7 separate regions of the Homo sapiens genome follow, and all the other regions are linked to region 1. The links are contacts of gene promoters, found by promoter capture Hi-C in blood cells and fetal thymus (Javierre and others, 2016). All regions are on one chromosome and are shown on one strand. The core of a region is centred on a gene start or on the middle of the fragment in contact, and the rest is flanking DNA. Distances in the headings are between cores, read along the strand shown.

Region 1 (3,387 bases), core at 612-3,111:
TAAACAATAGTATTGACATTCTGGAGCTTCATAAATTCAGAAAACATAATGACTAGTACGTATTATAATTTCACGCTTTTGAATTTATTAGAATTGTTTTAATGATAACAGCTTCTACATACGTTTAATAATAATACATATGTATAAAGCAAAATAATGATGATAGCTAATATTTCGGGCCTCAACATATACTAGTGTTTTTATATGCGTTGTATTTAATTAAAAAAAATCTTAAAGGAATCACATAGACCTCCGTTTAAATTTAGGCTCTACCACTTGCAGCTGCTACAAGTTTGATTTATATAATCTTTCATTGCCAAAACGGGTCAGATTCAGAACCAGCCTCTTCAGGGTAACTGTGAGGATCAAGAAAATCACAACAGCCGAAGTGCTTTACAGTGTGCCTGGCATAAAACAAACTCTGAGAACATTTTTTAAAAAATCCTTTCAAGGTAGGCAGTATCATTCCTTCCCCCTCATTTCATAGATGGGGCAATTAAGGCTCAGAAAGGCACGTCGCTTGTCCAGGATCTTGGAGTGGTGGAATTAGGATAGGGCATTCTGGACTACAATAAACACCTGAGCGTTTAGCTGCTGTGTTCTGAGCTCCCACAGCACTTTTTCTTACAACACAAACTTTATTTACATCACACTCCACTTCCGCATCCTTCACTAAAATATGAGCTCTTCAAGGGCAGGGACTATATTTTTGCTACCGCAGTAGTTAGCGATACACACACAGAATATGAGGAAAAAGTGTCTGACCAACGATCAATGCACTCACGACTGAACCTACGGTGGCAGATTGCAGTGGGATAGAAGAGCTTTATGTGAATTGCGTACTGAGATGCAGACCTACTATTTTGGGAACAATTTGTTTTTGTTGTTGAAACCCAGAATGCAATTCTTCTTTTTACCTTTATTTTGCTTAAAAAGTTATTCCATAATTATAAACTGCGTAAAACTAGAAGAATGCCCTTGCACTCAACTAAAACTGACAGGTGTTTTACCTTTCCAGTCAGGCACATTGAAGGCCTTGTGACTTTATTGATTTTTGTTTTTTAAAGGGAGGACCTGCCAATTTATTAATCTTAATAGAGCTGTAACAGGAGAGTATAAATAAAAAGATAGTTCAGAGAAAATTTACTGAAATTAAGTTTGGATTAAAATCATCTGGCTCTTTTAAGGAAAAGGGACATTAACCAAAAGTGGCGTTAACTATCAACAATATTTATGATTCTCTCACTCAGTAGATACATAATGACGTCTGGCAAATTGTTTAACTTCCGTGGAACAATCCCCTCATATGTAAAATCAGGAGGTTGGACTACATTGTAAGTGTCCTTTTGTTTCCACCTCTTCGTGACCGAATGTGGGGTGAGGAAGGGGCAAAAAAGCGATCCCGGTCTTGGCTCCTTCTTCCGGCACGGGCCGGAGCTGACACCCCCACGGAAAACCGCACAGCGCCTCCGCTCTTTCTCCACGGGCTGAGGGATCAATGCACTTCCGCATAGGCCTAGGGCCCCACGCTCCGCGATCAGCGCCGGAAGCGCACGGCATGCTGGGATTTGTAGTCCTCCACCTGTGGCCGGCAGGCGTTTAGAACGCGAGGTCTAGTTGGCATTCTGGGATACATAGTTCCTGGGCGGGTGGGGGCGGATTCGTTGGTGTAATCTCTTTTCGGCTTAAAGAGCCAGAAGCGACACCACAGACTCCGGCGGGTCACATGACTCCAGTCTAGCTCGCATTGCGGCTCCCGCCCGGGCGAGTTCTCGCCCCCGCGCGGCCGTTGCCGAGGAGACGGCGCATGTCCCGCCGCGCGTTGCCCCCTCTGCAGTACCCCCGCCCCTCTTCTCCCACCACAATGAGATCCTAAGATGGCGGTGGCTGCGGCGGTTGGCGCTGCGTAGCTGAGGTCGAAAAGGCGGCCACTGGGGCCGAGGCAGCCAGGAAACGTGTGGGCCTCTCTGCTGCGGTCTCCGAGGGCCGACCGCTGCCGGCGGCGGGTCGTGGGGGCTGACTGTCGCTCTGCCTTTGACAGGAGAGGCTGCTTCTTGTAGAGGTAATGCCTGCGCGTCCCCAGCCCTTGGCAACCTAGGGCGGCGCGCCCCAGAGGCGGGAGAGTAACGGCTCCGGGACACTCGGCCCTGTTGGGTCTGGCCACGGGCCCACGCCTCCTCTGTAGGTTCCCGGGTCTTCCTGCCCCGGGCTTCCCGTGCCCTAGGCGGTCAGTCCGCCCGCTCCCTCAGGACTGATCGCCGGGATCCCCGGGTGAGCACCTCGCGACGCGTTGGTGATTGCAGGACTCCCTTCTTGCCTCCTCGCCCCTCCTGCTGGCCCTGTCGGGGAGGCTGTTCTGCGTCCCGGTGGCTCCGGCTATACCCCTTGCGGGCGGAGGAAGCGGAGCGGGGACTCTGGTTTGGGTGCTAGGGGCACTGGGTCGAGTTCTTAGAGAAACAGGCCTTGGTGGCCATAGTTCTTCCCCGCGTTCCCTCTGTGGAACTCTCGGTGTCCAGAGTTTGGGGTGTAGAAGGGCGGATGAGGAGCGACGCGACTCTGAAGAGTTGCAGTTGGGCTGTGAGCTGCAGGATTTCCGCCGTCTCTGGTGCTGTGGGAGCCGATGGGCCGGGGGAGGCGTTCCTGGGAAGGTTAATGGAGTAATTATTGCCCCTTCTTTCTCCCTTCCTACCTATCTAGTTAGAATTGGGCCTAGAACCGGGAAAGACTAAATGCCAAGTGGGACTGGGGGAAACGTTGTTTGGTTTACAGAAACTGGCGTTTGGGGATTAGGCCCCGCCAGGGAGGCTGGGCGCGCCAACTTTGCATCCCTCAGCCTACTCCCCAGGAACTCGCCTGGTTTAATTTTTTTTGTTTTGTTTTGTTTTTTTGAGCGAGTTGAGGTCTGTATTGTGTGTCTTACGGGTGACGGTTCGTGTTTGGGCGCTGGAAGGAGCGGGCTTTCTGGGCGCCCCTACCACCCCCGCCCCATAACCGCTTTCCAGACTCCGCCTGCTGGTGTTCTCTGGTTACCGGAGTGGGTGTTGCAGAGCCTCGGGTGCACCTGCTCCTTTCTTTCCCTAGCACCTTCCTGGTGAGGACCCCTGAACACCAATATAATACAGAGTTTTTGAATTGAAGGTAAACCTGGTATTTATGTAGTGACGAGGTTATTTTATTATGAAGTACAGTAGCTTTTAAATGAGCAAACATTTTTAAAATCATCGGATATACGAGGTTGTTACATAGTTTGAGTAACAGGAAGCTCGATCAATCAGAGGAGTAAACTTTGGCATAGACTATTAAAGGATAGTTAGGGCTAACCATCTTTGTTACACTGTTCCGAAATAGATATCACTTTGCTGTTTGGTAAGATTTCAGAAGTTTAGG
Region 2 (3,387 bases), core at 375-2,874, 720 kb before region 1:
TTAGATGAGAACTTCTGCTATTATCCAATTTTTAGATAAGTAAATAATTTTGCAATATTTTACTTGCCGCAGCTGTTTGAACTAACCATAATTTATATTTTTATAATTTAATATGATTAAAATTTCATGGGGTATTAGGTTTTGTGTTCTGCTTTGTTTTTTAGATGTATTTTGAAGATGGATCATCATTGTCCATGGTGAGTTGGCTGTATATTTAAACAAGTTTGTGTCCCTTGTAAATGTTAATAAATTAAATCACTTATCCATGTAAATCTTTTCACACATGAAATATTACTTGAGTTGACATAGCAGGAACTTTTGGATTTAGTTTCTAATATTTGTTTAACTTAAAAGAGCCTTTATTTAGGGGAGTTTCCATGAAATACTTTTAAAACCAGTAGGTTAACAACCTAAAAGTTAATATCGCATGTTAGCTCAGAACAAAGGATTTTGTTTGTATGCATGTGCATGAACAGAGATTCCAGAATACTTCACAGAAATACACACAAAGATGTACAAGTAAATTATACATAGTACCTCACTGGAAGGTTTTTATAAAGAATTAAGTCATCAAAAGCTTTTTAACAATTTATTTTACACAGAATTTGACATTAAGGAGTAGAATACAACTACACAGATATACAAATGCACACATAAATTTAAACAAGATTTTCCACATAGAATTCATTAATATTTGCTAATATTTCTCAGTCACGAAATCAGGTAATTTAACAGAGGATTATTTGAAAGATCTGATTAGTAAGGTTAATTTTCCTTCCTTTTCCTATAATTTTTCATCTCAGTGTAGGCATATCTCTGACAGTCATGCCCAGGTTGCTGGCCAGGTTGGATTTGGGCGTGAGTAATGCTTATTCTTCAAGCTTTCTTTCAGGGATGGCTCTACAGAAAGGTAGACATGCCCACAGGTCCACAGTAGGTATAGGGTGAAATATATGTAGGGAATGGTTTTCTTAGCAGCAGGAAAGATTCCCAGGGGAATGTAGGATTATGGTATCCTGTATCTTTCACCAGTATACCTCTTTCTTTTCTCCACCTCGATTTTCTCCTTTAAAGCGTTCAGGCTAGTCAACCCATACAAGAATGGCACTCTTCTTAAAGGTCTCAATAAATAACGCCCCCTTCGTACTAATTGATACTTGCACTCATTCTTTTGCCCCCCTGCCCCCAGTTTTCTTTTCTGGTTTTTTTTACAACAAGTGTTCCCTCTCCCCCAGTGTCTTTAATAAGACTTCTTCTTCTTCTTCTTCTTCTTCTTCTTCTTCTTCTTCTTCTTCTTCGTCTTCGTCTTCGTCTTCTGTCTTCGTCTTCTGTCTTCGTCTTCGTCTTCTTCGTCTTTGTCTTCTTCTTCTTCTTTCTTCTTCTTTATTCTTTCTTCTTCTTCTTCTTCCTTTCTTCTTCTTCTCCTCCTCCTCCTCCCTCCTCCCTCCTCCCTCCTTCTTCTTCTTCTTTTCTTCTTTCTCCTTCTTCCTTCTTTCTTCTTCCTTCTTTCTTCTTTTTCCTTCTTCGTCCTTCTTCTTTCTTCTTCTTTTTTTTTTTTTTTGAGACAGAGTCTCGCTCTGTCGCCCAGGCTGGAGTGCGGTAGCGTGATCTCAGCTCACTGCAACCTCTGCCTCCCGGGTTCAAGCGATTCTCCTGCCTCAGCCTCCTGAGTAGCCAGACTACAGGCGCCTGTAACCTCACCTGGCTAATTTTTGTACTTTTAGTAGAGTCGGTTTCACCATATTGGCCAGGCTGGTCTCGAACTCTTGACCTTGTGATCCGCCCGCCTTGGCCTCCCAAAGTGCTGGGATTACAGGCGCGAGCCACCATGCCTGGCCAACGTCTTCTTAATTCTCCTTACATTCATTTGTTGACTTCCCCTGCAGCTGCTGTCAGTGCCCCACCTGTATCCCCATGACCCACCTGCTGAATTCATGGCATCTGGTGAACATCTCCCGTACCTGCTGGCAGCTCCCCATTCAGGCACCTGTGTTTCTTTTCTTCTCTGCCTGAGGGGGTCTCTTCTACCTGGGTAGTTTCGTTCAGCTCACAAGCCAGGCAGTCCAGAAGTGCCAAGGCATTCATACCTCCAGGGGCAACCCTCAACCAGTGACAGCCTGGCCGGTAAAAAATGCTTTATCCTTCCTGTCTCAAATGAACTGCATCCAAGTTCTTGTCTCAGAGTCTGCTTTGGGGTAAACCCATGTTAAGCACCCTCCTTTCTGGATAACTGTATACTCCAGATATATTCAGCAGAGTGGTAGTCATCATAGGCATAGTGTTGATTTTGATTTGTCTGACCTTAATAAGGGATTGTGATGACAAGGAATGGAGAGGTGGAAAAAAATCAGGTCAGTACATACCTATAAAGCTTCCCATGCCCTTGCTGTACTCACAAAATTACAAAAAGAGAAAATAATAATTTATCATTATAGTAATTTTGCTAAATCAACAGTTAATTTGGCCTCATGAGATACTTACAGTCTGATAGCCTTTACAGTTTTCACAGATTCTGTTAAATAAGTGAAGGAGAACAACAGAAATGAGACCCTAGAATTTTTAAAAATAGGTTCCATGGCATGCCTACACACCACCTGCTGTTACTCCACCCTTAGGTGGCAGTGTGGGAAGGTGAATGAACTGACTGCGGTACCTTTTAACCTGTGTCGTTGTTCACTTCCCCATCACTTCCCTTGCGGCATCCACTGTCTCCACCACTGTCCTAGCTCTGAGTACTCCCTTGCAGAAAGCAGCAGCCATGTTGACTTGTGAAGGATTTGATGCCAAGGGTCTGTTACTCACTTGGTGCCAGCTGAATGGAGCAGCCATTGTATTTAATTTTTTAATTTCAAATTAAAGTTTTAAATAAAAAAGTCTATAGGTAATAACATGCTTTTGGTTCCAAATTCAAAAATAAAACAGGTAGCCATGTTCTTCCCAGTCCCTCTCCCCACCTTCTTCCACTATGCACAGAGAACCAGGATTGTTAACGTCATGGCACTTTTCAGATCTCAATGTATGTGTGCATAGCCTATAAACCCCCTTGTTATTTATTTATTTATTTTTAGTACAAGTGACTACACTATTGATTGAATCTGTTTCTTTTTGTTTTCTTCACTTAATGTATCCTGGAAATGTTTCCGTATGAATATATAAAAAATCTTTTTCTACAGGCTTTGTGTGAATGTATTCATCTAATGGCAGTCACTTATAGGACTTTTAGGATGTTTTCAGACCCAGGGGCAGCCTTTTCTCTCTCTCTCTCTTTTTTTTTTTTTTTTTTTTTTTTTTTTTTAGATGGAGTCTAGCTCTGTAACCTGGGCTAGAGTGTGGTGGTGCGATCTTGGCTCACTGCAAGCTCCGCCTCCTGGGTTCATGCCATTCTCC
Region 3 (3,387 bases), core at 438-2,937, 700 kb before region 1:
CTTCCTCAGATGTCTATTTCTGTTTTTAGTGTTTTGTGTGTGTGGGAGAGAGATAGTGGTTGTAACTGACACTGTATAACGGGTGTGTGTGTGTTTCTATATCACCATCTTATATATACCCTTATTATGTACAAGGCACCTTTGGAAGTCTACCAAGGGATTCCTTATTCATAGATGAATAAGAAGTTTCTGCCTATTTGTTCAAAAGCAACCAAAAATGCTAACTTATGTGCTTTCATTAAGGTATGAGCAATCCTGCATTAACCATGGAAAATGAGACTTAACTCTTCAAGCAAGATAAATTCATACTTTATAAAAGTACGATAATTTTCCCTTTATTGTTTTATATTTTTAACAGTCTTCTAATTTTATTAGGGCAAATAGTTTCCATAAACATTTTTAATAATTTGTGAGTGATTCATATAGAAGATCTTTTACCTGACTTGTGAGATTGCATTAGCCATGCTGGGGCTTCTGAGTGCAGACCTAGCTTCAGTATTAGCTGGTATTTGTGTTAACTTGATTAATTATATAAATAAGTTGATGAACAAGAGTCATTTTATATTAATGCATTAAGTGGTAGGGATCAATCCTAAAATACTGAACTATATGTAAAAATTATCTTGTCATTTTATAGGAAGTTAGAATAATTATTTTTAATTTTTCTTCATCTTTCAGAATATACAGTGGTCATATCCTTGACCATCCATTAGGAAACTCTAAGTCGAAGTGCAATATAATTATATCTCATTAATGTACTCATTAGCACACTGTCATTCCCATTTTTGGGTCATAGTAGGGCCTTATAGCATGTGTTAACCTTAAAATAATAGGTGTTCCAAATCATTTTCTTTAAGCCTTATTTTTTTTTAAACCTGCAGTTCCAAATCAGTTTCTTTAAAATATGATCTGTTTGTAAGCCTGCAGTCAATAAAAAGCTACAATAAGGAACCCCTTTGGAACAAACAACTATATAATAAACAGTTTACCGAGCTGAATATTAAAGATAGCAAGATAACTCTCTCTTTACATAACGGCAATCTAGAATCCTAAAGTCTATGAAAAGCAAGAGATTCACTTGTAAAACAAAATGATTTGCATCAAAGTTCATGGATATCTGTTTTTATTTGTCTGTTCTGGTTTTGGTAAGTTAGCCATGTATTGTCAGCAAAATGCTGACCTGGCAATTTGCCAGCTGACTAGTATCTGATTTTGGGAAGAGCAGGATCAGCTCTGAATACCTGTTGCTACAGTAGGTCAGACTGACTATAACTGGTTAAAATAGTGAAAATTTCATCTGAATTTGATTAAATAGCAAAGACATTATTAAATTTCTGAAAATAATTTTAGAATGTAACTATGAATGTAATTTTAGAGTATAGCTATAGCAAATATGAGTCACTACCAGCCAATACCACAAATAAAATATACAGAACATAGTTCTGTAAGACATAGAATTTCACAGGATTTTTTTCAATATTTTGAAATCATCAGTTGCAATAACCATTGTTTTTAAGGTCAGTGCTATTAGGAATTTTTCTGTGTGTTAAGTGTTTTACATATTTACATGGTAATATTATATAAAAGCCATCGAGACTTCCCAGTATTTTGACAATACCAGTATTGTGGTTATTTATCTCCAACACCTTGCACAATGCCAGACACATAGTAGTTTCTCAACATTTGATGGATAAGTGACAAAATTAAAACATTGAAATTAAAAATCTGACAGAAACTTGATTTTATTAATTCAAATATGGCATGATTAGGCATAATCACAAAATGGCAGCATGAATCAGCGCTATAGATCTAAAAATACCCGATTTTCTGATGTCATGTTTTCTATTCTATCGATACAACCAGTTGCAGTAACATGTTTTGTTTTCTTAAACTTTCCCTAAAGTAGCTAATAGAAACTAGACTTTTAAAAATAATTTTTTCCTGCTTTACATCTCAGATTTGCAATTCATTCCAGTTGTATTTATATCAAATAATAGTTTGATACTGATGTGCCTAATTTATATTAAATATCTTCATATTGGCCGGGCGCGGTGGCTCACGCCTGGTAATCCCAGCACTTTGGGAGGCTGAGATGGGTGGATCACAATGTCAGGAGCTCAAGACCAGCCTAACCAACAAGGTGAAACCCCATCTCTACTAAAAATACAAAAATTAGACGGATGTGGTGTGGCGCACCTGTAATCCCACCTACTCAGGAGGCTGAGGCAGGAGAATTGCTTGAACCCAGAAGGCAGAGGTTGCAGTGAGCCAAAATCGTGCCATTGCACTCCAGCCTGGGAGCTTGGGTGACAGAGCAAGACTCTAAAAAAAAAAAAAAAAAAAAAAAAAACAGAAAAAAAACACTTCATATTTTTTCTCCTATTTTTGAACTACAATAGTAAATGATGTCACCTTTTTATAAAATATTTGTTTGTTCAGCAGTTTCCAGATGGTTATAATGTGCCTAAACCCATAGTTAGTACTAAAAAGTAAATTAAATTTAGCTTACCAACCTTTCCTATCATATGGTATAAATAAAAAATGCTGGCCAGGCGTGGTGGCTCACACTTGTAATTTCAGCACTTGCGGAGGCCAAGGCAAGCAGATTGCTTGAGCTAAGGAGTTGAAGACCAGCCTGAGCAACATGGTGAAACCCCGTCTCTACCAAAAATACAAAAAGAAAAAAAATTAGCTGGGTGTGGTGGCATGTGCCTGTGGTCCCAGCCACTCCAGAGGCTGAGGTGGGAGGATGAGAGGATGACTTGAGCCAGGGAGGCGGAATTTCCAGTAAGCTGAGATGGAGATCGCATCACTGCACTCCAGCCTGGGTGACAGAGTGAGGCCCTGTCTCAAAAAACAAAACAAAACAAAACAAAGCTGTGCTTCTATGCACATGAAGTTTCAAAATCATTTCCCTAAATGTCCTTCCTGACTCAGTTGCCACTCCTAAACTCCATTCAGCCTCAGATGAATGCAGAACTAACAACATAGAACCCTGCCACTCACATTGAAGCCCCAAACCAGCAACATTGTCATGACCTGGAAGATTAATAGAAATGCAGAATCTTAGGCCTTATCCTAGACCTACTGAATCAGAGTCTGCAATTTTTTTTTTTGCATTTTAATAGGATCCTTTCGTATATGCATATTAAAGTTTGAGCAGTATTGATGTAGAGTTCCATATTCAAGAGCACGTCTACTGAGCCTGCTAGCATAGTAAACAGTTTTGAATGAGGGATATTATTGAAACAGATTATGAAATGAGTTGGTTTGTTTTGCGTGTTTATGGTTAACATAGTAGTTTCATGTTTTCTGTTTCATTTCAAGGTATCAATGCTGTAGATGGATGGAAGAGGCTTCCCACAGGAAGGTGCCACCAGTCAGTTG
Region 4 (3,387 bases), core at 317-2,816, 660 kb before region 1:
GTTTCTTCTGCCTGATCCATTCTGCCATGGAGAGCCTCTAATGTATTTCAGTTCAGCAAACATATTTCTCAGTTCCAACATTTCTGTTTAATTGTTTATTATTACTTAAATCTCTTTGTTAAATTTCTCTGATAAATTTCTGAATTTTTTGTTTTATCTTGGAGATCACTGAGTTTCCTTAAATCTACTATTTAAATTCTTGTTCAGAGAGCTTACATATTATTATCTCATTAGGGTCAGTCATTTGTTCTTTGTTTCATCCGCTTAGGGAAGTCAGGCTCCCTGTTTGCTCTTGTTTCCTGCGGATGTGCGTCTATGTCTTTACTTTGACGAATTAGTTATTTATTCTGGTCTTCTCTCTCTGGCTTGTTTTGGTTTTATTGAATGTATTTGCTTAAAGACTCTTTACTGTAAGGTTTCTGCCTCCTTTTTGGTTCTCAGTGGCACTTTAAACCCAGGTTTGCCTTGGCTCTAATAAGTACCTGGAGCAGTGCCCATCTCTAATGGGGGAGCTCCCAAAGGGGATATCCCAACAGTGTGGGAAGGCTGGCAAACGGTTCCTGCCCATGGTTTCTGTGGAATATATCTCCTACAACATGGAGCTGCTGAATAGGCACTCTGATTTGGTGTTTTCTTTGGCTGCAGACAGGGCAGTTTCCAGGGTTGAGGATGGTAGTCTTGCCTCTCCCCTTTGTCTCTGGCTGTCCTCAGGAATATTTCTCCCTTCAGTCCTCATGATGCTTCTGGTGAGTTGAGGCAGGGATGAGTCTCCTGCCAGGGAACCAAAAATGGTGGGAAAGCCGATTGTTCACCTCGATCTTACTTTTTCCAGTGTAGAAATCGTGAGTCGAGGGGAAATTTTTTGTATGCTTGATGCTGGGAAGATTGTGGGGAGAGGCATCACAGGTATGGAAGTCCGATTCTCTTACCATCTGCTCAGAGTTTTTTCACTTCTCTGTGGCCCTGAGAAGTGACTGATCCTCATATTTGAGTTCTGGGATGTCGTTGGTGTTAATCTTAGTGTTACATATTTGTTGTTTTCTGTGACATTAAGTGAAGCCAGCTTGCTTCTGTGACACCATTTTGGAACTTGAATTCTCTAAAGCATATTAAGGTCTATTTGTTTCCATTTGGGGGACTATCAAAGAAATGAGGATGCCAGTTAATCTATATTCTTAATAACAAAGTGATATATTATTACAGCTTTATTTAGCCCCAACAAATTCAGAGCCACTGAGGTAAAACCATAGTAATTCTCTTCTCCCAGAGAAACTAGAAAATGAAATTATTAATTTGCAGGTCATTTAAATTTTCTCTTGTGGTGTGATTAAAATATTACTTTAAAGTATGTGTGTGTGTGTGTGTGTGTGTGTGTATTTATGTTGAAAATAGTACCACTGTCAGTATAAAGATATGGTTATAAGAATGTTTATCAAAGTGTGGTTTGTAAGAATAAAAGCTGCAAACAATCTAAATATCTAATAGTAGAAAATAGCTTAAATAATAGTATGACCATATACTACAACATTATGCAGCCATTAAAAATTATATTGTAGGCCGGACACGGTGACTCACGCCTGTAATCCTAGCACTTTGGGAGGCCGAGGCGGGCAGATCACGAGGTCAAGAGATTGAGATCATCCTGGCCAACATGGTGAAACCCCGTCTCTACTAAAAATACAAAAATTAGCTGGGTGTGGTGGTGTGCACCTGTAGTCCCAGCTACTCAGGAGACTGAGGCAGGAGAATCGGTTGAACCCGGGAGGCAGAGGTTGCAGTGAGCCGAGATCTCGCCATTGCACTCCAGCCTGATGACTGAGTGAAACCCCATCTCAAAAAAAAAAAAAAAAGATATTGTAAAATAACATTTACTAATTTGGAAAGATAATCACAATTGAGTGAGAAAAGAGTAACTTACAAAATTGATGTACAGTGTAATTATATTTTTATTTTAAATGAGGCTATGAATGTGCAAAGAAGTTTAGAAGATTATAGAGCAATATGTTTACAGTGGTTTTTTGGCAACTTTTTTTTAATGAGAATGAATGTTTTGGAATAAGTTTTTTAAAAGTATTAAAATAGCAACATTCAAAATCACATTTGTGATGAATATTCAGGGAATTATTCCTGTTTTAATTAAGTAAAACAAGTACTTATCTGTTGTTTAATGCAGCTAATCAAAATGCATTTCTAGATTGCCATGATTAACTTGTTTTGGAATTTGTTGATGGTTCAGCTCTCATTAATATTATAAGTATCACCTTCTGTTATTTGTGATACTTAGTTTGTGAAGAAAACTCATAAAAAAAATTTTAGGAACTGTCATCAGTATAACTGGAGAAAATGAATTGGACATTTCTAACCAATTATTTAGATAAAAATTATTTAAATCAAATTTATTTTAATATGTTTTCAATGAAAATTTTCTATAAAAATCTGAACAATGTCTGAAAAACTGAGGAGTTAAAACTTCATTGGAAGGCCAAGGCAGGTGGATCGCTTGAGGTCAGGAATTCGAGACCAGCCTAGCCAGCATGGTGAAACCCCTTATCTACAAAATATATATATAACCGGGTGTGGTGGCACACACCTGTAGTCCCAGCTACTCATGAGGCTGAGGCAAGAGAATTGCTTGAACCCAGGAGGCAGAAATTCTAGTGAGCCAAGATCGTGTCACCACACTCCAGCCTGGGCAACAGAGCGAAACTCCGTGTCAAAAAGACAAACAAAAAACTTTAATACTATAAATCTAGAGAGGGACCAACCTCCATGTTCTACATGCCTATTTAATAATAGCTAACATTTATTGAACACTTATTTGCCTGGTACTGTGTTGGGGGATTTACATGCATTATTTTGCGTAATCTAACAAATCTTTTAGGTGGGTAGATTTTTTTTAACATCTCCCTTTCCCATTTGAGAGAAAAGGCTTAACTTACCCATGACAGTAAATAAATGGTAAAGACAGGATTTGAACCCAGGAAGCCTGACTTGAGAGGCAGTGCTGTTAATCACTAAGATGCTCTAGTTGACTTTGAATTGGTGGATGCTTTTGTGACCAGTATTTATTTCCTTGAACAATGACCTCTTCAGGTTCTAAAATAATGTAGAGGAATAAAAAATTTAGGCCATTCTGTTGATTATGTGGTGTTCATACAAGGGAGGAGGTTTTTCAGTCCAAACCTAATTCCCAAAGAAAAACTTCCAGAAAAACTGTTCAAGTCCTAATATTGAGTGTCCACTTGAGTCTTTTCTTAATCGTTTTTTCTAAGTGATAACTCCATTCCTTAGGATATCAGAGAGGAAAGCTTATCTACATCTACAGTTTTTCTGTAACTCCATCCCAACACTTTTGAATCTTTTAAGCTATCTTAAGATTTACATATC
Region 5 (3,387 bases), core at 604-3,103, 640 kb before region 1:
GATTTTACTGGCTACATTTTGGCCAACACATCCTTGGAATCATGCACTGACCTGGTCTAAAGCTGACTAGAGGAAAAAGCCAAAATGTTACAGTAACTACTCTGGCCTCTTTTCAGCTCTGTTTCCCTCTTATCAATACATACAATGAAATGACTAGGAAGAAATTCTTCTCATGCTACCTTGTCTGTGAACTTGTACTTGTCTGAATTTACTATAGTACTAGTGTGTTCAACATTATGCTTGGAAGAAATAAATAGCTTAAATTTTACATATCAGTAAGTCTGGTTCCTATCAGGGAAATTTAAGAAATAAGTGATATTCTCAAGCAATTAAGTTAAACAGAATTAAGAACAAGAAAAAAATACTTAACTATATTACTGCTGTCCTATTTTAAGAAACCTAAGCTGAATAAGCTCCTTAGTTTCATACATTGTTCTTTACCTGAGTTAAGTTGACTTTATTTTTAATTTCAGGTCACTGTATAACTGTGAACACTTCCCCACGGTTGTGATTTTTAAAGAAAGTAGATATATCGATATATCCATTGGACCAAAATTTACTTTTACAGATTCTGTCAAGAATATATTACAGACTGCTCTATGTTCCATTGTGGTTGATGTTTTATTTGATTTTAAGGTTAAAACTGGCAGCCTTAGGTGTATATGTAAAAATTATTTAGAACCCTATCAGTTAACTAAAGCTGAAAAATTGTAAATAGTTGTCATGGAGAAAAACTCGATGTCTGATATTTATTGACATTTTTTCTTTTGTGTTTCTAGTGTGTCACAACTCACAGATATGAATGAACAAGAGGAGGTATTACTAGAACAGTTTCTGACTTTGCCTCAACTAAAACAAATTATTACCGACAAAGATGACTTAGTAAAAAGTATTGAGGAACTAGCAAGTATGTTTTCCCTCTCCTGAGCGCACATTTCCTGAAAAAAATCTCATCTTTACCTAGAAGTAAACTAGAGATTTATCTTACAGGAAAAAATCTCCTTTTGGAGCCCAGCTTGGAAGCCAAAAGACAAACTGTTTTAGATAAGGTGAGTTAGTGATAATTTTGAAGAAATTTACATAATTTAAAAATAGAATAAAACAACCTTTTCATTTTCTCTTTTAGTATGAATTACTTACACAGATGAAGTCCACTTTCGAAAAGAAGATGCAAAGGCAGCATGAACTTAGTGAGGTAAGACTGTTTATTTTTTTCCCTTTGCCATAGATTTTTTTTTTAATCTTATGTGCATGAGTCCTGATCTCACTTTCATTATCATCAGAAACCATTTATGAGGTATCTGACCTTATAAGACATGATACCTTTAAACGTGGATGAACAGCTCTCAGTGATGAGGCATCATACATTATTTGTGCTCATATAAGAGCGTATTTGTTTCTAAAACAGAAAATTATGACAGGCCCTGACACATAACTTTTCTGGGTAAGTTATGAAACCATTGTAACACTTGTAGTGAAACCTAGCAATAACAACAAAAACTTTCGACTCACTTGTAAGCTTATCTACAAATACCTTAAATGAAAAGTTCGCAAATTAAAAAGAATAATATATGAAAAATATATAGTATTATCTGCTACAAATAAGTTTTATGCTAGAAATCCAGTTATGTGAAAATCAAAAGAATTTTATAAAATTCAACCTATATTTCTGAAAAAAAAGGAATCTTTGAAAAGGAACCAGAGGACATAATCTTTGTATCATACCAATAACAACCTCATAGTTAATATTCTGTTTCCTGTAAAATTAGGAACTTTGGGTAAAGTCAATGAAATAAAACATAAAATAGACATAAACCAACAACAGCAAAAAAGATGGTAAAGGAGAATATAAATTTATAATGAATTTCAGATAATACGGTCATTTGTCAGAATAAAGAAATAATAGCTAACATTGAGCAATTAATATGTCTTGCACCGCATGAAGCTATTTACGTATATTGGGCCATTATTACACCAAATCCTATGAAATAGGTATTGTTACTTTTTCCCATTTTACATTTTACAGATAGGGAAACTGAGGCACAGGGAGATTAAATAAATTTCTTGAGGTCATACAAGTAGAAACATTAGTTAGGAGTGTAACCTAAGCAGTCCTCCTTCACAGAAAATCTGTGAGACTCAACTGAAGTACTGTTAGATATATACTGGACCTTAGTAAATGTTGAAGAAGCTTTCATAGTACTCAACATCATTCTTTATACAAACTCTTAGTAAACTAAAAATAGAAATTTCTTATTTGAAAAAGAATACTAGAAACCAGCAGTAAACCTCACAATTACTACACATTTCTAGGATCCCATTAATGTTAGGAATAAGAGAGTAATGCCTCATGATCACTGCTGTTTAACGTTGTTTGGGAGGTTTTGAGTACTGCAAGACCAAAAAAAAGTGGTATAACATAAAAAGAAGAAATGAAACAGTTGTTTACCAAAAATAAACAATCAAAAATTCTAGAGAACTGAGAAATTTTTTCCTGTTTGCTCCAGCAATTACTACTGCAAAATGAAGTACAGAAAACAACTCATTTACCATAGGAACAAAATTGTAAAGTACTTAGAAGTAAACCCAATGAAGTAAGTTAGGAAACTTTATTGAATGCCATAAAAGAAGAGCTGAGTTTTGTATTTTCTAAGACTATTTAGAGCAGCATAGAATATTCATTGAATGAAAGATCCATTATTAAAAAGATTTCATTCTCCCCAAAATAACTTAGAAATTGAATACAGTTCTTATCAAAATGCCAAGAATATTTTTTTTATCTTAACAGTTTATTCTAAAGTTCATCTGAAACTTTATTTTTCAGATGGGTAGTCAGGAAGAGCTTGAACAAAAAGAAAAAATGAAAAAAACTCCCTTTCCCAGTATCAGAATACACTGTAAATCCTCATTATTTAAAACAGTATAGTAGTTTTATAGGAAGAGAAAATTATTTCTATGGAACAGACTATGTAGTTCAAAAATAGACTTGTGTATGTGAATAATCAGTTGGAAAAAATTGAGGATTCAATAAATTATAAAATTGGTTATTTAGTATCCATTTAGAAAAAGGTTAGATCATTGTATCATACAATACACAGAAAGTTTATTACAGATAAACTGCTTCAGCGGAAACCATAAAACGTCAACTAGCTTCTAGGATTTTTTCTTTAAGATTATGGTGGGAAAAGCCTTTCTTAGCATAATAAAACAGATATGAGCATAAAGGAAAAACTCGACATATTTACCTCTACAGATTGAAAACTCAGATATATTAAAAAATCATGAAATCAAAATTGAAGTTAAAAAAAGGGTACAGATATTTTTAGCCTATACAACAAATACTAATGCCAGTGGTCTATTGGAAAAGGAAACAACAGGAAACTGACA
Region 6 (3,387 bases), core at 498-2,997, 610 kb before region 1:
TATAACTTCATTTATCTATGATATGACATATACAACAAAATTTAAGCTTTCTGAATAAGAGACACAAACTCAAAAAACAAGACGATTTTCCCCTAAATATTCAATTGAAATTTTCAGAAACAGTGCTTTTATTCTAAACATTCAAAACAGTCTTAAATATTACTTACCGGTGATTAAACTTATGACCAAAGGAAATCCAGTCCTTTTCAATTAATACCTACACAAGAAAGAATACAAATATCTTGGAGAGAAGCAAACGAAAAATAAGAGACCACACAACCAATAATGTTGAGGAATTCAGAGGCACTTGCAGAAGTCCCCATCCTCGAGTAACCTGCAAATGCATGAACAGGCATTATCCACCCATATAGAGATGCACATGGCAAAGGCAAAGTTGAAGGTCATCCATGGGAACAGTGAGTGGAAATGGATGTATAAAAATGCAGGAACCCCACCCGCTGAATGCTTCCTATGTGCCAGGCACTGTTCACATTGCTTTACGTATGATCTCTAACTGTAGGATAGGTATTCTCACTCTTTTAGAAGGGGAAACCGAAGGAAAGAGGTTTCATATTCGCCCAAGATCATGCTACTAGGAAGGAGACCCCACTTCACAGCCCAGGTCTCTCCACTTCAAACCCTATCTCAACCAATGTGTGATGCTGCCTCTCAGTGTAATGTAAATTACCAACCTCTTTACAAAAACAACTGGGAAGTTTTTCAGTGATCTTTTCTACACATTATAAGAATTCTAAAATGATGGTGTTTGGGGTATATTCAAAGCTTCAGCCCTGCTTTGAAATTAGGGTTAACATGAATTTCTAAGTCTGAGGCAGTCCAGATTATTATTTTTAAGTATTTATTTTGGTTTTGTATTTTATATTGTTTTATATTTTAAAATTTATTTTTGAGACAGGATCTCACTCAGCCACGTAGGCTGGAGTGCAGTGATGAGATCATGGCTCACTACACCCTTGACCTCCTGAGCTCGAGCGATCCTCCCACCTCAGCCCAAGTAGCTGGGACCACAGGTGGGCTCCACCACACCTGGCTAATTTTTTTTTAATTTTTTATAGAGACGAGGTCTCGCCATGTTGCCCAGGCTGGTCTCAAACTCTGGGGCTCCAGCAAGCCTCCCTCCTTAACCTCCCAAAATGCTGGGATTACAGGTGTGAGCTACCACACCCAGCCTGGATTTTAAAAAGTGTTCAGTCAAGTAATATGGATAGTCTCATCAATATCCCCAATGCTTTAAAGTGGCCAGAGATTTCCCCTTACAAAGAAATATGAACTAGTGGAAGTCTGTTCTTGACAACTCGAGACATTTTCTTTGGGTTGTAAGTTTAATGGGGCACAATGAGAACAAGTTGATGATGGAAACGCATGTGTGCAGGAGAAGAGCCTAAGGGCAGTGTGTGACTGGCAACCTCTTTACTCTCCAAATGCAAATGAAGCAATCCAGCCCTCCTGACTTCAGTCCAGCAGGGATCTGAAGCAAGGGTATCACTTTGAGGTGTCAATGCTATCACAGGTAATTGGAAGTTCTCAGACACTTCCAAAAAAAGAAAAACATCCCAGAGAGGGAGCCTGCCTCTTCGCTCTTGTCCGAGGGTGTTGCTGATATTACTCAATAATGGAGACCCAGCAGTAAAGATATTCCATTAGGACTCCTTTGTCAGCATCTTGTGTAGCACGGATTCATGATTCACTGAAGCACTGTCTACCAAATCATGGTTAAGAGGTGAATTCATTTTAAGGAACTTATACCAGATTAGTGAAAACTTCACCATCCCAGGCAACTATATACAATACTCTGTAGTTGAAAGCAACGTTACATTTGATGCCCACCTAAAAAGCTCAAACTCTACAGGATATACTCGTCATTTCAGCAAAGAACAACAACAAAAGGCTGTGAAATTTTCAGCATTCTCATCCAGGGGTGTGAAGGACTACTTAAAAAACATACCCTGGAAGTGAAAACAGTTTTTCCTACCAAGGACTTTTGGCATACACAATATAGAAAATTTCTTCCCAAAATATTTTTTCTAAAAAGTCTTCTGTTACATATTCATGTTACCTCAAACTTGAAATACTTATGAGCAAATGATATATAAAATTGGCTTACAAACTACCAAATATATTTTATATTTGCCCCAAAACTCATTCAGTAGCATTGACTTGAAATGGTTTCAATATCCCAGAAATTCATCTCTTTATTCCAAGCCTTCCCCTTTAATCTTGCTGATTAAATTAATCTTGATCTCTTCCCCTTTAATCTTGCTGAGCTACTAAAAGAAAAATAATGCTGGCAAGAAAACAGCAGTTGCCAGTAGTTGTAAAAACAGGGGTCCATTCCTGGTCAAGGCACCGCCTGTGGGAATCGCCCAGTGGCCACACTCACCATGAAGCCCTTCAGAGTCCGGTAGTGAGGGTCCAGCAGCAGGCTTGCCACCGAGCACACCTGAGCGGTCCTGTCCCAGCCATCAGAACAGTGAACAAGCACACTTGCCCCTTCCTCTGACACTGCCTAGAAAACACACGATCCGCAAAGAGTCACAAAGAATGGCTGTAAAAAGGCAGAACCTCTCATCACAGCCAGGTTTGACTGTATATTTACAGAAAGAAACAGCCAAAACGAAACACCTGTCCATTCGTCTGTTTAGGGCCCCCCCTAATTAGGGCAGAGCCAGAGTGGCCTGGTGCTGGCAGCTAAAGCTTTCCCTTCCCATTCTATCCAGAAGCCACCACTCAAGTCACCTCCAATAAGCGCATGTACTTACTAAACATAAGCATTCGTCCTATGCAAACGGACCTTCAACCCTCTTCCCTCCCCTCTGAGTTTCCACATTAAGCCTTACTGAAATTCTGGAGTTGCTACTGGCCCCAGCCATTTCCAAAAAGGAAAAGGCAAAAAAGTTATAAATTACAGACCTATGAAGTTATAAATAAAAGGTAAGCGTCAAGTAATGGATGTAAGGTTGAGGAAAGGAAAAAACAAAAGTAAAAATGACACCAGAAAATCTCCAGTAAGAAAAGAATATCTATTTGCTATTGCAAATGCACATCATTTTTTACTAAATATCTTGGCAGTTAACATACGCTGGGAAACATGGGAGAGATTTCATCATAGCATTTATCACTACCTAAAATTCTAGTTTTATTAGTTTATTAATACTCTGTCTCAGCTGGAGGCAGTGGCTCACGCATGTAATCCCAGCACTTTGGGAGGCCGTGGCGGGTGGATCACCTGAGGTCAGGAGTCCGTGACCAGCCTGACCAACATGGTGAAACCCCGTCTCTACTAAAAATACAAAAATTAGCCAGGCATAGTGGCGCGTGCCAGTAATTCCAGCTACTTGGGAGGCTGAGACAGAAGAATCGCTTGAA
Region 7 (3,387 bases), core at 361-2,860, 580 kb before region 1:
AATTCTAAGAACTCTCAAAGAAAGATGCACAGAATTCCGAACGCACATGACTAAGCATCTCTAACCATGATCTATAAAGCTGTTAATAGCTGGATATTCAAAGGGAGCCCACGTGGCTCTACATAACCCATGTGCGTAAGGCCTAAAATTAATATTATGTGTTGCTTCGACATCTGGTAAAACCGAGAGGGCCTCAAATGGCCTCACTGCAAGTTCCCTGCCACGCTCTGCTCCTGCAGGTAAGGTTCCCAAGTGAAACAATTCTTATCCAACAGACCAGGTGCAGTTCCTGCCCGTCCCCCAGAAGCAGGTTTTAGTTCCCTGCCAGTCATGGAATGATGCACGCAAGCTAATCACATCCTCCTGTGGGAACCAAGGGTGACCCCACGCTCCTGATACTACACAGCCTGCCTCTCACAGCCCCTGGCTGTCACTCTGCTCCTCAGCGCAACCTCATGTGCCCCTTCATGGGCTGTGGTGTCCTCCTCCCCTTGGCAGTGAGTATATGTGACTGTTCATCTCACCTGCCCAGTGTCAAGTGCTGTGTGTCTGGCTGTCCCTGTAACCTAGAGCAGGAATCCCTCCCTCACCACAGGGGTGAAAGAATGTGATTACATCCATTAAAAGTAATGGCAAAAACTGAAATTACTTTTGCACCAACCTAACACTACATGTGGTAACAGCTGATACAAAGGGAAAGATGGACCCTCCACAGGGGCCTTTATATTGAACAGAACTTCAGGTTCATAAAATCTCGTGCACTTCAAGCTTCTCCTAATCTGATCACCAGTTCCCAGTGCCCAAAATTAGCCAAGTCATCTCACCACCAAAATCAAAAGTGTCCCTTTGGTAGCATACGTGGGAAACAGTATTTTCACTATAAAATGTAGTATCCTTATTCATAAGCATAAATTCTTTGGGGGTAGGAATACATACTCTTTAAGCCTAAAATGTCTCAAATAACCAAAGAGAAGAAAGACAGATCAGCAAATTTATGGAATGTGTACCTGTTTACTTTTTGTGGGAGACTGCCTGTTTTCTATACGGCCATCGATGAGCAATGACAGCACAGATAACTACTCTGGTATTTCAGTGTCTTCCATTAAGCACAGAAATCCACCTTTGGTAATAATACTTCCCTTTAGGAAAAGCCCTAGTCAAATCAGAAGCATTTATATAATTAACCTTGATATTAAAATGTAAACATTGTTATAAAACACAAATTTGATCATTATTCCACCTGCAAAATAGATTTCAGTTCATGGGGTGGGAGAGTGGGCGGGCAGGTGTGTGCTCACTCGGGACTTCCCTGGGGTAACCCGATCACGCAGCGCTGCTTCGAGACACATCTCTGTTCTGTACCTTGGAAGAAGAGCTAGAGCTTCAGGTTGTTTCTGCTTTAAAATCTTAAATATGGGCAATGAATACTCTTAAGCTCTAACTATGCTGTGTGAGTTCATTTTCAGGCCTGGAGGTTCAGTAAAATAGCACTTGGGGGAGCAGGCGTGGAGCCATGTGGGTCTGAGGTCAGCCGGGGAAGAAGCTGCCTCTGAGGTCTAACTGCTAAAAATTCTCTTTCTGAGACAATACATATTTAATCCTGATACTACTCACATTGACAAAAAGTAAAATGTCCCTTGTCTCAAGAATATAAAAAGGGAGTTGCTAGGCACACTGTGCTCACTTTTTAAATATTCTACAGACAACAATAAAACACCTCTGAAACAACAATAAAAGATCGTTTCTCCCTCTCCTGGATTCATCTTCTCTCTTCTTTAATCAATGGATGCTACAAAAAAAAAAATGTGCATGTTACCAGCAACCTAATTTCAAGTGCAACATCATGAAACTTCCTATCTCTATTTATCCTATCTTAATAAAAAAAAAAAAAAAAAAAAAAAAAAGAGGCAAGGGGCGGCGCCTCACACCTGTAATCCCAGCACTTTGGGAGGCCGAGGCAGGCAGATCACTTGAGCACAGGAGCTCAAGACCAGCCTGGGCAACATGGCTTTCCTCGTCTCTACAAAAAATGCAAAACAATTAGCTGGGCCGGGTGGCACACGCGTGGTCCCAGTGACTCGGGAGGCTGAGATGGGAAGATCACTTGAGTCTGGGGAGGTCAAGGCTGCAGTGAGCCAAGATTGTGCCACTGCACTCCAGCCTGGGCGACAAGTGAGATCTTGTTTCCGAAAAAAAAAAAAAAAAATCACATCTTCCTTTGCCTCTAACCAGTGCTCCAGCTCTGTGCAAGCTGAAATACATTCAGAGTTAATAAAATACTTTAGACCCTAATTCAAGGCTAGGAAAAGAAGAAGAGCAATGAGTATAACTAAAAATAATTTTTATCCAATTCACAGAACTTTCACCACCAAATTAATATTTTCCTTCAAAGTAGCAACAGAGAGGGCTATGTGCTCACTCTGATGAAGCTGGCATTGCTCCAGATATTTTTGGAAGCTTCTAGAATCTGACTGAGACCCTGCTCTACCCCCCGGCTGTAGGTGCAGGCATGTGGATACACACTCACACAATCTCCTGTGTTTATAGCCTCACTCGGCTTTGAATCCAGAAGTATATTATCTAGCTTAAAAACTAAAGTTTCTCTCTCACCTTGCTAGAACCAAAGAACATTTTGTTTTTTTAAACCACCTTTTTTAAAGGTGGTTTTTTGCTACCTTTTAAAAGTGGGTGCCAAAGACCATTCTTGCTCATCCGAATTTGTTTTCCTATCCTCCGCAGAAATGGAACTCTAAGTTTTAGCTATTTTAATGGCCACCCATAACACTGTACTTCCACACCTGCCCTGTGCAATTCTGATGAAAGGGAGGTGTCACGTGGCAGTTTTTGGAAGCCTTCCTTAAAAAGCTGGGCACACAACATTAGCCCTCCGTCACCTGCCACCTGCAGTGTGTGGGTGGTGACTGTACTGAAGTGACCTCTTGCACCAGGCAGGCCATGGCCAAATCCAGGTGGTGGTAGAGCAGAAAGGTAGAAGGAGCTTGAGTACCTGAAGGCTAAGTGGGGTGGGGCCAGGCTACCAGGCTAGGACTGCGCACCCTGGTAATTTTACGCAACAGAAAAAAATTGTATCCTCTTAGAGCCACTGTTACTTAGAGTCTCTATTACAGACAAACCCAATTCTGGCTTTTATAAATAATATTTTAAAAATAAAACCCATGCTCTCTATAACCAAAGATTTCTTATACTGAAGATACTCAAAAGAACATGAAATTTAAAAACAGGTAATAAGGCCGGGCACAGTGGCTCACGCCTGTAATCCCAGCACTTTGTGAGGCCGAGGCAGGTGGGTCACCTGTGGTCGGGAGTTCAAGACCACCCTGGCCAACATGGTGAAACCCCTTCTTTACTAAAAATACAAAAAAAAAA

What was found. Contacts are between HindIII fragments. The CHiCAGO score rates a contact against its expected background, and 5 or more counts as called.
Region 2: a contact is called between a fragment that was not itself captured here and the fragment with the promoter of PCM1 in region 1, in 1 of 17 cell types (neutrophils). The highest score is 6.3, in neutrophils.
Region 3: a contact is called between a fragment that was not itself captured here and the fragment with the promoter of PCM1 in region 1, in 2 of 17 cell types (neutrophils and naive B cells). The highest score is 8.0, in neutrophils.
Region 4: a fragment that was not itself captured here is called in contact with the fragment with the promoter of PCM1 in region 1 in 13 of 17 cell types (neutrophils, naive B cells, monocytes and 10 more); the score reaches 12.1 in neutrophils.
Region 5: a fragment that was not itself captured here is called in contact with the fragment with the promoter of PCM1 in region 1 in 9 of 17 cell types (neutrophils, total B cells, monocytes and 6 more); the score reaches 9.2 in neutrophils.
Region 6: a contact is called between a fragment that was not itself captured here and the fragment with the promoter of PCM1 in region 1, in 1 of 17 cell types (neutrophils). The highest score is 6.7, in neutrophils.
Region 7: a fragment that was not itself captured here is called in contact with the fragment with the promoter of PCM1 in region 1 in 1 of 17 cell types (neutrophils); the score reaches 12.1 in neutrophils.

What each region holds. Positions count from the first base shown.
Region 1 is chr8:17,921,127-17,924,513 of GRCh38, forward strand. It overlaps PCM1 (pericentriolar material 1), which reads left to right and starts at 1,862. Exons shown (of 39, transcript NM_006197.4): 1 at 1,862-2,062. It overlaps LOC124901867, which reads right to left. Exons shown (of 4, transcript XM_047422505.1): 2 at 3,031-3,101; 3 at 2,383-2,640; 4 at 1-2,220. The coding sequence ends at 1,538. RefSeq lists enhancers at 1,230-1,679, 2,830-2,889 and a silencer at 2,074-2,368. The HindIII fragment of the contact is 6,694 bases long and covers 1-3,387 here.
Region 2 is chr8:17,198,217-17,201,603 of GRCh38, forward strand. ZDHHC2 (zDHHC palmitoyltransferase 2) reads left to right here. Exons shown (of 13, transcript NM_016353.5): 6 at 165-197. Among named protein-coding and RNA genes, the nearest start is that of ZDHHC2, 43 kb to the left of the region's middle. The HindIII fragment of the contact is 1,490 bases long and covers 880-2,369 here.
Region 3 is chr8:17,216,929-17,220,315 of GRCh38, forward strand. ZDHHC2 (zDHHC palmitoyltransferase 2) reads left to right here. Exons shown (of 13, transcript NM_016353.5): 12 at 244-318; 13 at 3,328-3,387. The coding sequence ends at 284. Among named protein-coding and RNA genes, the nearest start is that of CNOT7, 28 kb to the right of the region's middle. The HindIII fragment of the contact is 4,516 bases long and covers 1-3,387 here.
Region 4 is chr8:17,261,226-17,264,612 of GRCh38, forward strand. All of the region lies in intron 1 of VPS37A (VPS37A subunit of ESCRT-I), which reads left to right. Among named protein-coding and RNA genes, the nearest start is that of VPS37A, 16 kb to the left of the region's middle. The HindIII fragment of the contact is 3,479 bases long and covers 1-3,306 here.
Region 5 is chr8:17,279,249-17,282,635 of GRCh38, forward strand. It overlaps VPS37A (VPS37A subunit of ESCRT-I), which reads left to right. Exons shown (of 12, transcript NM_152415.3): 7 at 780-907; 8 at 991-1,049; 9 at 1,127-1,195. Among named protein-coding and RNA genes, the nearest start is that of VPS37A, 34 kb to the left of the region's middle. The HindIII fragment of the contact is 672 bases long and covers 1,518-2,189 here.
Region 6 is chr8:17,309,110-17,312,496 of GRCh38, forward strand. It overlaps MTMR7 (myotubularin related protein 7), which reads right to left. Exons shown (of 14, transcript NM_004686.5): 9 at 2,402-2,527; 10 at 168-217. It also overlaps a transcript of VPS37A not described here. Among named protein-coding and RNA genes, the nearest start is that of VPS37A, 64 kb to the left of the region's middle. The HindIII fragment of the contact is 1,932 bases long and covers 782-2,713 here.
Region 7 is chr8:17,345,007-17,348,393 of GRCh38, forward strand. All of the region lies in intron 5 of MTMR7 (myotubularin related protein 7), which reads right to left. It overlaps LOC102724838 (a long non-coding RNA gene), which reads left to right and starts at 39. Exons shown (of 4, transcript XR_428318.4): 1 at 39-239. The HindIII fragment of the contact is 1,689 bases long and covers 767-2,455 here.